Linked DNA regions of Homo sapiens: region 2 is linked to region 1. Evidence: promoter capture Hi-C in 16 types of primary human blood cells and fetal thymus (Javierre and others, 2016). All regions are on one chromosome and are shown on one strand. Each heading gives the region's core, a stretch centred on a gene start or on the middle of the fragment in contact. The rest is flanking DNA. Distances are from core to core; before and after follow the strand shown. Region 1 holds the start of CELA1 (chymotrypsin like elastase 1). Region 2 overlaps SMAGP (small cell adhesion glycoprotein).

What was found. The method cuts DNA at HindIII sites, captures the fragments that hold promoters and counts their contacts. A CHiCAGO score of 5 or more calls a contact.
Region 2: a contact is called between a fragment that was not itself captured here and the fragment with the promoter of CELA1 in region 1, in 6 of 17 cell types (megakaryocytes, M2 macrophages, non-activated CD4 T cells and 3 more). The highest score is 6.6, in megakaryocytes.

The regions. Positions count from the first base shown.
Region 1 is chr12:51,342,644-51,349,617 of GRCh38, forward strand. It overlaps CELA1 (chymotrypsin like elastase 1), which reads right to left and starts at 4,036. Exons shown (of 8, transcript NM_001971.6): 1 at 3,980-4,036; 2 at 3,152-3,234; 3 at 1,110-1,210; 4 at 1-57. The coding sequence starts at 3,995. The HindIII fragment of the contact is 4,543 bases long and covers 1,088-5,630 here.
Region 2 is chr12:51,252,086-51,259,059 of GRCh38, forward strand. All of the region lies in intron 2 of SMAGP (small cell adhesion glycoprotein), which reads right to left. Among named protein-coding and RNA genes, the nearest start is that of SMAGP, 15 kb to the right of the region's middle. The HindIII fragment of the contact is 292 bases long and covers 2,609-2,900 here.

The DNA of each region.
Region 1 (6,974 bases), core at 2,786-5,285:
GTGCCATCATTCTGGCTCAGGTTATGGTCTCCAGCCACCACGCGGAAAGTCTTCTGGCTGGCGTGAGAGAAGGAATCCCTGAGTCATCCAGGGGACTCAAACCTTCTCTACCCCACTTAGAGAAAAGTTGAAAAACCATCTTTTTTTTTAATCATTATTATTTAGGAAATTTTTTTTTTTTTTTAGAGATGGGGTTTTGCTGTGTTGCCCAGGCTGGCTTCAAACTCCCAGGCTCAAGTGATCCTCCCACCGCAGCTTCCCTAGTAGCTGGGACTACAGGTGTGAGCCACCGTGCCCAGGTTTTGTTTATTATTTTAGGACAGGAACCCATCTTATCTGGTCTAGGCAGAGGAGGGATATAAGACTCTCCAAAATGAGAAAGTAACAAGCTCTTTCATTCCCTAATTGACTAACTTGTGGAAGTGAAAAAAACTACCATCACTTTGATTTTCTCGGTTTAACATCATAGGCTGAATATCTTGTAAACTGGGAGAGGTGTAGTGCGCATAAATGAAATAATGGCTCTCAGCCACCAAGATTTTGAAGGAAGCATAGACTTTTAGGCTAGTTGTTCTTAAAGCGTGGTTCCTGGGCCGCAGCATGAGCATCACCTGGAAACTTGTTAGAAATGCAAATTATCAGGCCTCACCCTGGACCTACCAAATTAGAAACTCTGCTGGATGGGGCCCAGCAATCTGTGCCTTCCAGGTGATTCTGACACATGCTCAAATGTGAAAACCATTGCCCAAGACAAATAGGAAAAAATAGTCACCAGTCAGACATTGACTAGGCACTTACATATTTACTCAATCCTCACAACATTTCTACAAAGTAAATGTTCTTAGCCCACTTTAGAGATAGGAGAATGGGGGCATAGTTGCCCAAGGCTACATAGCTAGAATTTGGTGGAGCAAGATTTGAATTTGAGTCTCCCTGACTCCAAAGTTTGTACTTTCACCATACTACCTCCCTGCAGGCCCTGAACAGGAAAGGAGCCACTGCCCAGTCCCTGAAGTGCTGTCCAGAGAGGGCAAAATTATATCCTCTTTCAGAAGGTCAGCCCCTTCCCCTTCCAGGGGCCCAGGAAAGCTTGTCTTTGTTTTTCTTACTAATCCACGCAGTGAGCAGCTGTCATCACCCAGTTCTGTCTGATAAGGGTCCCTCCACAGGTGTGATACCGGGAACCTCCAGACCGGTACTGGAGGGAAATCTAGATGGGGAGGAAAGAAAGAAGGGATAGGTTGGTGTTTCTCAAATGGTTTTGCCCCAGGTCGGTTGCAGTGGCTCATGCCAGTAATCCCAGAACTTTGGAAGGCTGAGGCAGGAGGATCAGTTGAGCCTAGGAGCTGGAGACCAGCCTGGGCAACATAGTGAGACCTCGCCTCTACAACGTCAAAAATAATTAAATATAAAAGACTTTGCCTCAAACTACATGTCACCTCCTTAAAGTCCTGCTGTCCTTCAAAACATTCTCTTTCTAGGCTAGAGATGGCAAATAGGTTTCATCTGACCTGCCAATTGCTACTGATTGCTTGGTAGTGGCCACCTGGAGTGTGGCATTGATAAGGGGTGTGTAGATGCTTCTGGGGCCAGCAGGAAGGGATGCTCCATCGCTTGGTGATGTTTGCTGTGTACATGGATGGAGGAGTAAAGGCACACAGTGTATTTGGCATTATCTCTCTAGGTTGTTGCAATGGACCTAGAACCCATTGTAACTCCTTTTTTGGAACTCCTTCTACCTCTGTTCTCCCTTAAAGAGGAACTATAGGCCAGGCACCATGGCTCACGCCTGTGATCCTAGCACATTGGGAGGCCAAGGCGGGTGGATCACCAGGTCAGGAGATCAAGACCATCCTGGCCAACATGGTGAAACCCCATCTCTACTAAAAATGCAAAAATTAGTCGGGCGTGGTGGCATGCACCTGTAGTCCCAGCTACTCAGGAGGCTGAGGCAGGAGAATTGCTTGAACCCAGGAGGTGGAGGTTACAGTGAGCTGAGATAGCGTCACTGCACTGCAGCCTGGTGACAGAGCGAGACTCCATCGCCCCCTCTCCTCCCCCAAAAAAGAGGAACTATAGGCAAAGATTTGCTCCATCACCTAAGCCCAACAGGCTTAGGTCTCCAGAGCTGTACCTTTAGTGTTTTCAAGACATCTCCTGTCTCCCCACTTCAGGGACTACTTAGAAATACCAATGGGAGGCCAGGCGCTGTGGCTCATGCCTGTAATCCCAGCACTTTGGGAGGCTGAGGCGGGTGGATCACCTGAGGTCAGGAGTTTGAGACCAGCCTGGCCAACATGGTGAAACCCCGTCTCTACTAAAAATACAAAAATTAGCTGGGCATGGTGACAGGCGCCTGTAATCCCAGCTACTCAGGAGGCTGACGCAGGAGAACTGCTTGAACCCAGGAGGCAGAGTTTGCAGTGAGCCGAGATCATGCCATTGCACTCTAGCCTGGGCAATGAGAGCAAAACTCCATCTCAAAAAAAAAAAAATACCAATAGGATGTTTGTTTTTATCAGTTCATGTCTCTTCTTCTAGCACCTCATGTTATGTAATAGCTCTACTCCTGAAAACTGGGGCTCAGACTTTTATAAGCTAAAACTCTGATTGCAGTGATATCTTCTCAAAGTGTGGATCTTCATCAGTTAATTTGCCAGGTTTACATATTTAGATCACTTAAATCAGGGCCCAGCTGCCCTGTTAGCAAAGTGGAAACTCTAAATAGCCAACTAAGCAGCATGCTGTACGTGTGTGTGTGTGTGTGTGCGCGCACATGCGTGCAAGCATTGTGACACACACAGTGTGGAGTGGTGTGCGTGTGAGTTTCAAGGTATGTGGAGTCCAAGGTGACTGTCTGGCACCCAGTCTTTCTTGCGTGGCACAAGTGCTGTCGCTGAGAATATAAATGTATCTTGTGTTTGGGTGTGTGCCTTGAAGAGGGACTGTGGTTGGTGTATAAATCCCCTCCTCCAAGCCTTTTGCATTTAGAAAACCACCTAAGCCTGATCCCATCCATCTTTAAAATCGAGAACCTAGACAATTGGAGAGCTGCTTGTTGATAGGGACATGCACAAATACACATGATACCTTATGTCATGCACTGAGCTCTTATTTGGGTGGAAGTCTGGGGCTGGGAAGGAACACCCACCTGAGAGGGCCAGGAATTCCTCCCGGCCTCAGTCCCTCCGACTACGCGGGCATTGGTTTCCGGAAGGTCCTGGGTGCTGTGTCCTTTGTGGGGCAGAAGAAAAGTGAGTGATGACTAAGCATGGGGTCAGCCAGGGGTAGGGGTGGGGGGTGGCGATTGTGCTTTGAGGAATGTTAGCCTTGTCTGCAAATTCACAGTTCCTCTCTAACGAATGAGGGGCCCAGCTGTGAGTTCTCTGAGCCCCTTTTGAAAACAGGGGTGCCTGGGTGCCTTCTGTTTCCCCCAGGTGTTCCCAGAACTCCGGCATGCTATGAAGGACCTCTCTCAAACCACCAGGCTAGGCCCCAGAGGCTCCTTGTGGTCTCCTCTTTGCTCAAGATCACCCTTTGGCCTGAAGAGACCCCCCCCCACTCTTTGACCCCCACCAGCCCCCTAATGCTTTGGCAAGATTCTCCAGGGTTCAGGGCCTGCAGTGCACACCCCAGCCAGGCACCTGCTGAGGAAGTCCTCCTGTCAATGGGGGTGGTGGGGAAGCCCAGGGACCCACCCCACTACCAGATGGGGCTTCTCTCTGCTTTGTGGCCCAGGGACCTGCCACCCAGAGGGGCCTGAATAGCCAGTGGCCCTGACCTTTTCTATCTTGGCCTCCAGGAGAGTAAAGGACGCTCTGCAGGCAGAGCGTCCCACCTGCCCTGGGACAGGGTGCTGGCCTGGACTTAGGGAAAATTTGCTGACCTTCCTGCCCAAGTCCCCCTCCCTATAGACCTCAGGCCACATGATCCACTTACCATAAAGGACCAGGGTTGCGACTGGACCATATCCACTTACCATAAAGGACCAGCATGTTGCCGATGGAGTAGACCACTGCCTTCTTGCTTGGACCAAGCCCTCTTTATACTCCTCTTAGCAGCAAAGCTGACTGTCTTCTTGCCAACTGGCAGGGCTGAGGGTGCAAGGCAGGGAAAATCACAAGTGACATGGAAATACAAATGAAAATATTTCTTTTCAAGTAAACTAATGTATCTGTTATTCAAAGACAGAACAAGGCCAGGGCTGAATTAATCATCTGCTTTTAATTGAAAAGCATCCAACAAACTCTTTTTCAGAAATAAGATGGAGAACCAGGGCTGGTTTTTCTCTAAGGGAGCACCCCTTGTCATCCATCACTCTCTCGTTGTCCTCAGTGGCACCATAAATGCAGAGACTTGCCCTGTGCACTAGCAGCTGGAGGCCAGGGGGATAGTGGAAGAGGGGGGAGTGGTTAGCAAGGGCAAGGAAGACACAGCAACTCTCTCTGCCCAAAGAGGGAGATGGCACATGCCCCCAGGATGCAGGCATAGGTGTAAATGCAGACACAAAAGCCAAATAGATGCAGTGGAGATAATTCTGGGGGAGGAAAGTACTGAGAAACAGGCTTGGGCCCTCTCAGATGGAGAGCCAAGAAGGGGCTCCCAGAGGAGAATATGAGGCAGGGTAGAGGAGGGGATCCTTGGGATGTGAAGACAGTCTGAGGGCTATGAGGGTAGATGGAGGGTGGAGGGCAGAGGGAGAACGAGGGTAGGAGCCGAGGTTCCTGCAGGAGATGAAAGGCTTTGTTCATCACAGTTCGTAGAGGAGAGAGAAGGGAGTTGCGGCCGGGCGCGGTGGTTTACGCCTGTAATCCCAGCACTTTGGGAGGCTGAGGCGGGCGGATCACAAGATCAAGAGATCGAGACCATCCTGGCCAACATGGCGAAACCCCGTCTACTAAAAATACAAAAATTGGCCGGGCGCGGTGGCTCATGCCTGTAATCCCAGCACTTTGGGAGTCGGAGGCGGGCGGATCACGAGGTCAGGAGATTGAGACTACTCTGGCTAACACAGTGAAACCCCGTCTCTACTAAAAAAATACAAAAAATTAGCTGGGCGTGGTGGCAGGCGCCTGTAGTCCCAGCTCCTCGGGAGGCGCAGGCAGGAGAATGGCGTGAGCCCGGGAGGCGGAGCTTGCAGTGAGCCGAGATCGCGCCACTGCACTCCAACCTGGGCGACAGAGCGAGACTCCATCTAAAAAAAAACAAAAACAAAATACAAAAATTAGCTGGGCATGGTGGTGCGCTTCTGCAGTCCCAGCTAATCTGGAGGCTGAGGCAGGAGAATCGCTTCAACCTGGGAAGCGGAGGTTGCTGCACTCCAGCCTGGAGACAGAGCAAGACTCTGTCTCAAAATAAATAAATAAATAAATAAATAAATAAATAAATAAATAAATAAATAGAGAGAGAAAAGAGTTGCAATGTGCCTTGAGGTGGGCAGAGGACCCTTGGGTTGGCCACAAAATGATCAGAGCCACTGCAGGCTCCAGAGCAGAGGACTGTGGGTGCAGCAGTCATGGTAGCAACGCATGGGGTTTGGAATTAGGCAGGGAGAAGCCAGGAACCTAGACAGAAGCAGGACCATCACCTGCCCACCCAGGGCTTTTGTTGCCTAAACACTCCAGAATCCAAGCTTCATGGCTGCAGGGGTGGGAGAAACCTGGAAAATGCTCTTTGAAGGAATCTGCACAGTCACTTTTTCAGTGTCTAGAGCTGTTCAGAGGAGTTGCACTTTGATGCTCAGATAACCTGAAGAGCTTGCTCTCCAGCCTGCCCTCCAGCATTCTGGCACACTCAGGGAAGAGGGGTGAGCTGCGCTAGGGAACCCGGGGCCTCTTTGGTCATTCTCCTCCCGCTTCCCTGCTTCCTCTGGCCTCTAGCCCCAGGATGAGGAGTCCAAGAGGAGGCTTGAGGGCCTCCTGAAGGTTACCTCTTTACATCACAGCAGGGCCAGATCACCTGAGGTCAGGAGTTCCAGACCAGCCTGGCCAACATGGTGAAATCCCGTCTCTACTGAAAATACAAAAATTAGCCAGGCGTTGTGGTGTAGTCCCTGTGCTTGGGAGCTGTAATCCCAGCTCCTTGGGAAGCTGTGGCAGGGAGAGTTGCTTGAACCCTGGAGGTGGAGGTTGCAGTGAGCCGAGATTGTGCCACTGCACTCCAGCCTGGGCAACAGAGCAAGACTCCATCTCAAAAAAAAAAAAAAAAAAATCTTACTCTTAGGGTTAGGCATAGACAATGGCTTAAATTTTTTCTTTTTTTAAGACAGGGTCTCATTCTGTTGCCCATGCTAGAGTGCAGTGGCATGATCTCAACTCACTGCAACCTCCATCTTCTGGGCTCAAGCGATCCTCCCACCTCAGCCCCTCAAGTAGCTGGGACTACAGGTGCCAGCCACCATGCCCAGCTAATTTTTGTATTTTTTGTAGAGACGAGGTTTCACCATGTTGCCCAAGCTAGTCTCAAACTCCTGAGCTCAAGTGATTCACCCACCTCAGCCTCCCCAAGTACTGGGATTGCAGGCATGAGCCACCCGCCCAGCCAGACAATGACTTAAATTTTGAGGCATTGCATTTCTTCTGACATTGCATACCAATTCTAGGAATGAATTCTTTTGAGATAAACACTGGTCGGGCATGGTGGCTCATGTTTGTAATCTCAGCAATTTGGGAAGCCAAGGCGGGAGGACTGCTTGAGGCCAGAAGTTTGGTATCAGCCTGGGCAACATAATGAGACCTTGTCTCTACAAAACATGAAAAAAACATGGTGGCGCATGCCTGTAGTCCCATTACTTGGGAGGCTGAGGTGGGAGGATCCCTTGAGCATGGGAGGTCGAGGCTGCAGTGAGCCATGATTGTGTCACTGCACTCCAGCCTGGGTGACAAAACAAGACCCAGTCTCAAAACAAAACAAAACAAAAAAACAGGCAGAAAAATAAATGTTCGAGGTTGTGGGTTACAGTATAGTTTGTCACA
Region 2 (6,974 bases), core at 1,505-4,004, 92 kb before region 1:
CTACATCAGATTTTTTTTTTTTTTTCCAGACAGAGTCTCGCTCTGTCACCCAGGCTGGAGTGCAGTGGCGCGATGTTGGCTCACTGCAACCTCTGTCTCCCAGGTTCTAGCGATTCTCCTGCCTCAGCCTCCCGAGTAGCTGGGACTACAGGCGCATGTCACCACGCCCGGCTAATTTTTTGTATTTTTTAGTAGAGACGGGGTTTCACCATATTAGCCAGGATGGTCTTGATCTCCTGACCTCGTGATCTGCCCGCCTCGGCCTCCCAAAGTGCTGGGATTACAGGTATGAGCCACTGTGCCCGGCCTATTATTATTATTTTTGAGGCCAAGTCTCACTGTGTCACCCAGGCTGGAGTGCAGTGGCTTCATCTCGGCTCACTGCAACCTCCGCCCCCTGGGTTCAAGCAATTCTCCTGCCTCAGCCTCCCAAGTAGCTGGAATTACAGGCATGTGCCACCACACCCGGCTAATTTTTGTATTTTTTAGTAGAGACAGTTTTGCCATGTTGGCCAGGCTGGTCTCAGACTCCTGACCTCAGGTGATCCGCCCTCCTCAGCCTCCCAAAGTGTTGGGATTACAGGCGTGAGCCACATCGCCCCCCGAAGGACAATTTAAAAAGCATTATATTTGCAACAAGAACAAAGAAAAAGCTAGGCTTCTTTGGGCCTGAGGGGTCAGGTTGGAGGTAACAGAGAAAGCAGAATTCCCTCAGGCCTTTTCACCTCTGTTTCCTATCAAAGAGAATCATTTTTTTGCACTAAGGAGCAGTGGAGCCTTTGGGGACATGGGGGAAGTGAGCTCAAGAGAAGCAAAGAAACCCAGCAAGCACCAGACTAATCTAAAAGGGACCAGATATGACAGCCAAAGGCACTGCAAGAACTTGTAAATGGGATTTCTGTTGGTGACATAGGAGCTTCTGAGAAAGAGAAAGGGGTCGGGAACCTGAAGGGGCCATGGAAGGAAGGTGGAGTCCATAAAGCAATGGTGAGCTTGATGTGACTCCCCAGCAAAGTTCTAGAACACACTATTACGGCCTGTTTGGGGGGCTTTGAACTCGAAACAGCAAGCATTAGAAGTCAGAATGGGACTACTGAGAGCAAGCTGGGTCAGATAAGCTGCACAGCCTTCTTAGACTGAGATTCCAGGTTCCTAGACAGGGAAATTAAACAGTTAGTTCAACAAGAATTTACTGAGTGTGTACTCTGTGCCAGGCTCTGGGCTTCTATCAGTGAACAACACAGGCAAAAACCCTTACCTTTAAAGTTCCTGCCAGGATTAAACAGAATTACCCAGCAATCTCATTGCTGGGTGGGTATGATCCCGCAATCCCACTTCTAGGTATATACCCAAAAGAAATGAATGGACTTCAACTGATACTTGTATATCATGTTCATAGGAGCATTATGCAATAGCTAAATAAAAGGTGAAATAACCCAAATGTCCAACAGTAGATAAATGGATAAACAAAATGTGGTATATACATACCCTTAAAGAGGAAGGAAATTCTAAAAAAAAACAAAAAACAAAAAAGGAAGGAATTCAGACATATACTACAACATGGATGAACCTTGAGGACATGACACTAAGTGAAATAAGCCAGGCACAAAAGGACAAACATTCCAGCCTGGCCAACGTGGTAAAACCCCGTCTCTACTAAAAATACAAAAATTAGCCGGACGTGGTGGCAGGTGCCTGTAATCCCAGCTACTTGGGAGGCCAAGGCAGGAGAATCACTTGAACCCGGGAGGTAGAGGTTGCAGTGAGCCAAGATCATGCCACTGCACTCCAGCCCAGGCGAAAGAGCGAGACTCTGTCTCAAACAAAAAAAAAGAGGACAAACATTGTATGATTCCACTTATATGATGTGCTTAGAGCAATCAAATTCATAAGACAGAAAGTACTACAGGAGATTGTAAGGGGCTGGAGAAGGGGAAAATGGGGAGTTAATGTTTAATGAGTATAGAGTTTTAGTTTGGGAGGATGAAAAAGTTCTGGAGATGCATAGTGGTGTTGGTGAAGGTATAACAACATGAATGTACTTAATACTGCTGGACTGTACACTTGAAAATGGTTAAAATGGTCAATTTTATGTTATGTATAATTTTACCACAATTAAAAAACCCTCTGTTTATATAATTTACATTTTTAGAGGGGGAAGACAGACAATAAATAAAATAAGGCCGGGCGCGGTGGCTCATGCCTGTAATCCCAGCACTTTGGGAGGCCGAGGCGGGTGGATCATGAGGTCAGGAGTTTGGCACCAGCCTGACCAACATGGCAAAACCCCGTCTCTACTAAAAATACAAAAATTAGCTGGGTGTGGTGGCGTATGCCTGTAGTCCCAGCTACTCAGGAGGCTGAGGCAGGAGAATCACTTGAACCCAGGAGGCGGAGGCTGCAGTGAGCCGAGATTGCACCACTGCACTCCAACCTGGGTGACAGAGAGAGACTCCATCTAAAAAAAAAAGTAAAAATAAATAATTAAATAAGTAAAAGATATGCTATATTAGACGTTAATTAGCGCTATGTAGAAAAATAAGCAGAAAAGAGGATGGAAAGCTGGGATGTGGTTGGAGTTGTGGTTTTAGAGAAGGTTGTCAGGGGAAGCTTTACTGATGAGGTGACTTGAGTGAAGACCTAAAGAAGGTAAGGGAGGCAGTCATGCAAAGAGCTGATTGAGGAACATTCCAGGCAGAGGGGACAGCAAGTTCATGGGAGGGCTGTCCACAGCACTGAAAAACACCCCGGGGCCAGGCATGCTTGGCCTGTTAAATGCACAGTATGGAGGCCCCTGAGTGGGAGTAACGGGGAGAGGAGGAGCAGAGAAAGTCAAGGAGGCCTGTACAACACAGGCCTTGTAGGCCAAGGTAAGGGCTTTTTCAGGGAGTGAGGTGGGAAGCTTTTACAGGTTTTTGGGCAGAGACTGATCAGATTTTTTTTATTATTTATTCACTTACTTATTTTTGAGACAGGGCCTCAGTCTGTCCTCCAGGCTGGAGTGCCATGGTATGATCATGGCTCACTGCAGCCTCCACCTCCCAGGCTCAAGCGATCCTCCTGCCTCAGCCTCTGGAGTAGCTGGGAATACAAGCGTGCACCAACACGCCTGGCTAATTTTGTTATTTTTTGGAGAGACGGGGTCTTGCTATGTTGCCCAGGCTCGTCTCAAAACTCCTGGGCTCAAATGGTTCTCCCTCCTTGGCCTCCCAAAGTGTTGGGATTACAGGCATGTGCCACTGTGCCTGGCCTAGGTTTGTGTTTTAAAGCAATGCTTCTCAAACTTTCTTGTGCATAACAATCTCCTACAGATCTCGTTAAAATGCAGATTCTGATTCAGGAGATCTGAGGTGGGGCCTGATTTCCAAAGACCACACTTGTGAAACCCTGAGACCACCATGTTGAGAGGAACCCCAATCCTGCCTGCTAGAGGATGAGAGGCCATATGGAGGAAAACCAAGCACCCCAGGCTCAGCTGACTGCCAGACATGTGAGGGAGACCATTTTGGCCCTTCTAGTCTAGCAGACCTTCCAGCAGCAATACATGATTGAAACAGGGATTGATTTGAAAGGATCCCTCTGACTACAGTGTGGACAATAGGCTGTGGGAAGGTGGCACACGTGCAGAAGCAGGGTGTACCCTGCACAAGTGCACAGTTGCATCTGCCAAAAGGTGTGCCTTTTTCTTTTTCTTTCTTTTTTTTGAGACAGGGTCTTGCTCTGTTGTCCAGGCTGGAATACAGTGGTGTGATCTCAGCTTATTGCAGCCTCCGCCTCCCGGGTTCACGCAATTTTCCTGCCTCAGACTCCCAAGTAGCTGGGATTACAGGCATGCACCACCATGCCTGGCTAATTTTGTATTTTTAGTAGAGACGGGGTTTCACCATGTTGGCCAGGCTGGTCTTGAACTCCTAACCTCAAGTGATCTGCCCACCTTGGCCTCCCAAAGTGCTGGCATTACAGGTGTGAGCTACCGTGCCCAACCCCTTTTTCTAATTTCCACGACAGCATTGATTGCTTTTGCAGCAGCTCAGTGAGAAAGTGGTGAGATTCTGAATATAATCTGAAGCAAAGACGGACAGGATTGGATGTGGGGTGGAGTCAAGGGTGAAGGCATGGAGTTATGTGAGAGGGGTAAGCCTGCAGGGGGAACAAATTTGGAAGAAACATGATTGCTTACTAGATATCAAAGTTCAGATATGAAGATTAGAATTTGGAGGCCAGGTGCGGTGGCTCACGCCTGTAATCTTAGCACTTTGGGAGGCTGAGGCCAGAGGATCACTTGACCTCAGGAGTTCAAGAGCAGCCTGGGCAACATAGTGGGACCTCAGCTCTATTTAAAAAAACACAAACAAGCCGGGCGCGGTGGCTCACGCCAGTAATCCCAGCAATTTGGGAGGCAGAGGCAGGCGGATCACCTGAGGTCAGCAGTTCAAGACCAGCCTGACCAACATGGAGAAACCCCATCTCTACTAAAAATACAAAATTAGCCGGGGTGGTGGCGCATGCCTGTAATCCCAGCTACTCGGGAGGCTGAGGCAGGAGAATCGCTTGAACCCAGGAGGCGGAGGTTGCGGCGAGCTGAGATCGTGCCATTGCACTCCAGCCTGGGCAATGAGAGCGAAACTCCGTCTCAAAACAAACAAACAAACAAACAAAAAAAACACAAACAAACAAAACCTCCCCCCCACCCAAAAAAAGATATATATATATATTCTTATATATGGTACTAGAGGTTGAAAAGTCATTAGATATTTAAGACCATAGACTGGGTGAGATCACCCAGGAGTAAGTGCAGATAAAGAGAACCCAAGACTGAGCCCAAGGAGACTGGGGAGTAGCAGCCAAACAGCTTTTGCCATGCAGAGATCATAAACGACCTTTACAAGAGAAGTTTTGGTGAAGTGCTGGATACAAACCCGTAATTTAGGGTGGGTTCAAGGAAGAAATGGAAGGAGAGGAACTGAAGGCAGAATATAAATAAATGCTTACACAAAATTTCTCTGTAAAGGTGAGTAGAGAAAGGCTGTGACTGGAGGGGAAAGGGAGTTCAAATTTGTTTGTTTTTCTGATGGGAGAAATGCCAGCATGTTTGCATACAGATGAGAATGACCCAGATGAGAGGCACAATTGATGATGCACAAGAGTCCTTGAAGGGATGAGATCTAGAGCACAGAGGGGCTGGGGGGCTGGCTGCAGACAGCAGCAGAGACAGTGCCATTGGAATAGGAGGAAAAGCAGAGTATATGGGCACAAATGCAGGTGGCAGGTTGATGGTGAGGGTGCGAGCCTTTGGCAGTTCTCTTCTGATAACTTTAATTTGCTCAAGAAAATAGGATCTTAACTGGGCCCAGTGGCTTGTGCCTATAATCCCAGCACTTTGAGAGGCCGAGTGGGGAGAATTGTTTGGGGCCAGGGCCAGGAGTTCAAGACAAGCCTGGGCAACATAGTGAGACCTTTGTATACATTTTTTTTTTTTGAGACAGTCTTGCTCTGTCACCCAGGCTGGAGTGCAGTGGTGCCACCTTGGGTCACTGTAACCTCCTCCTCCCAGGTTATAATGATTCTCTTGCCTTAGTCTCCCGAGTACCTGGGATTACAGGTACCCACCACTACACTTGGCTAATTTTTGCATTTTTAGTAGAGATGGGGTTTCACCCTGTTGGCCAGGCTGGTCTCGAACTCCTGACCTCAGGTGATCTGCCTGTCTTGGCCTCTCAAAGTGCTGGGATTACAGGTGTGAGCCACTGTGCCCAGCCTACCCATTCTAAAGTAAGATCTTAACTGGGCCCAGTGGTTTGCACCTATAATCCCAGCACTTTGAGAGTCCAATGTGGGAGGATCGCTTGAGGTCAGGAGTTTGAGATCAGGCTGAGAGCAACATAGTGAGACCTCCATCTCTACAAAAAAAATAAAAATAAAAATAAAAGCAATAGCCAGGCATGGTGGCACACACCTGTAAGTCCAGCAATTTGGAAGGCTGAGGTGGGAGGATTCCTTGAGCCCAGGAGTTCAAGGCTGCAGTGAGCTATGATTGTGCCATAGCACTCCAGCCTAGGTAACAGACCCTGTCTCTCAAAAAATAAATTAATTAATAATTACAAAATAGGATGTAAGATAATCAGTTGAGAGTGAGGGTAGGAGGGGCTTAAGGAGAACTGAAGGTGCTGCAAGAGTAAATAGCATCAGAAAACATACAACAACATTATTTACAGGCCGGGCACAGTGGTGCATGCCTGTAATCCCAGCATTTTGGGAGGCTGAGGGCAGGTGGATCACCTAAGGTGATGGAGGTTGGGAGTTCAAGACCAGCCTGGCCAACATGGTGAAACCCCATCTCTACTAAAAATAAAAATTAGCTGGGCATGGTGGTGGGCACCTATAATCCCAGCTACTACTGGGAGGCTGAGGCAGGAGAATCGCTTGAACCTGGGAGGCACAGGTTGCAGTGATCTGAGATCGTGCCATTGCACTCCAGCCTGGGCAACAAGAGTGAGACTCCATCTCAAAAAAAAAAAAGAAAGAAAAGAAAAGATTATTTATAATATCCTTGTGGACAAGGCAGAGAAATACAGCCTGGCTATAAGGCCTAAGTGAGGCAGTAATGGGTTGTTAAGGGATGAAGTGATGCCAGTCTAGACAGAGACTCTTTCACTGTGGTTTAACCTTAGTCCTTTTTGAATTGATAGTTATGTCAAATCATGCAAGGGCCAAAATAAGGCCTTTATGTAATTTGAAATAAAAATATTAAATCATAAAGCAAGTATAAGAAAGTCCAAGGCTGGGTGCAGTGGCTCATGCCTGTAATCCCAACAATTTGGGAGGCTGAGGCAGGAGGACTGCTTGAGCCCAGGAGTTCAAAGCCAGCCTGGGCAACATGGGGAGACCCTGTCTCTACCAAAAAAAAAAAAAAAAAAAAAAAAAAACCTGATAGTTGAACCCTGAGGAGGATTCTAGAGGATCACTTCAGTCTG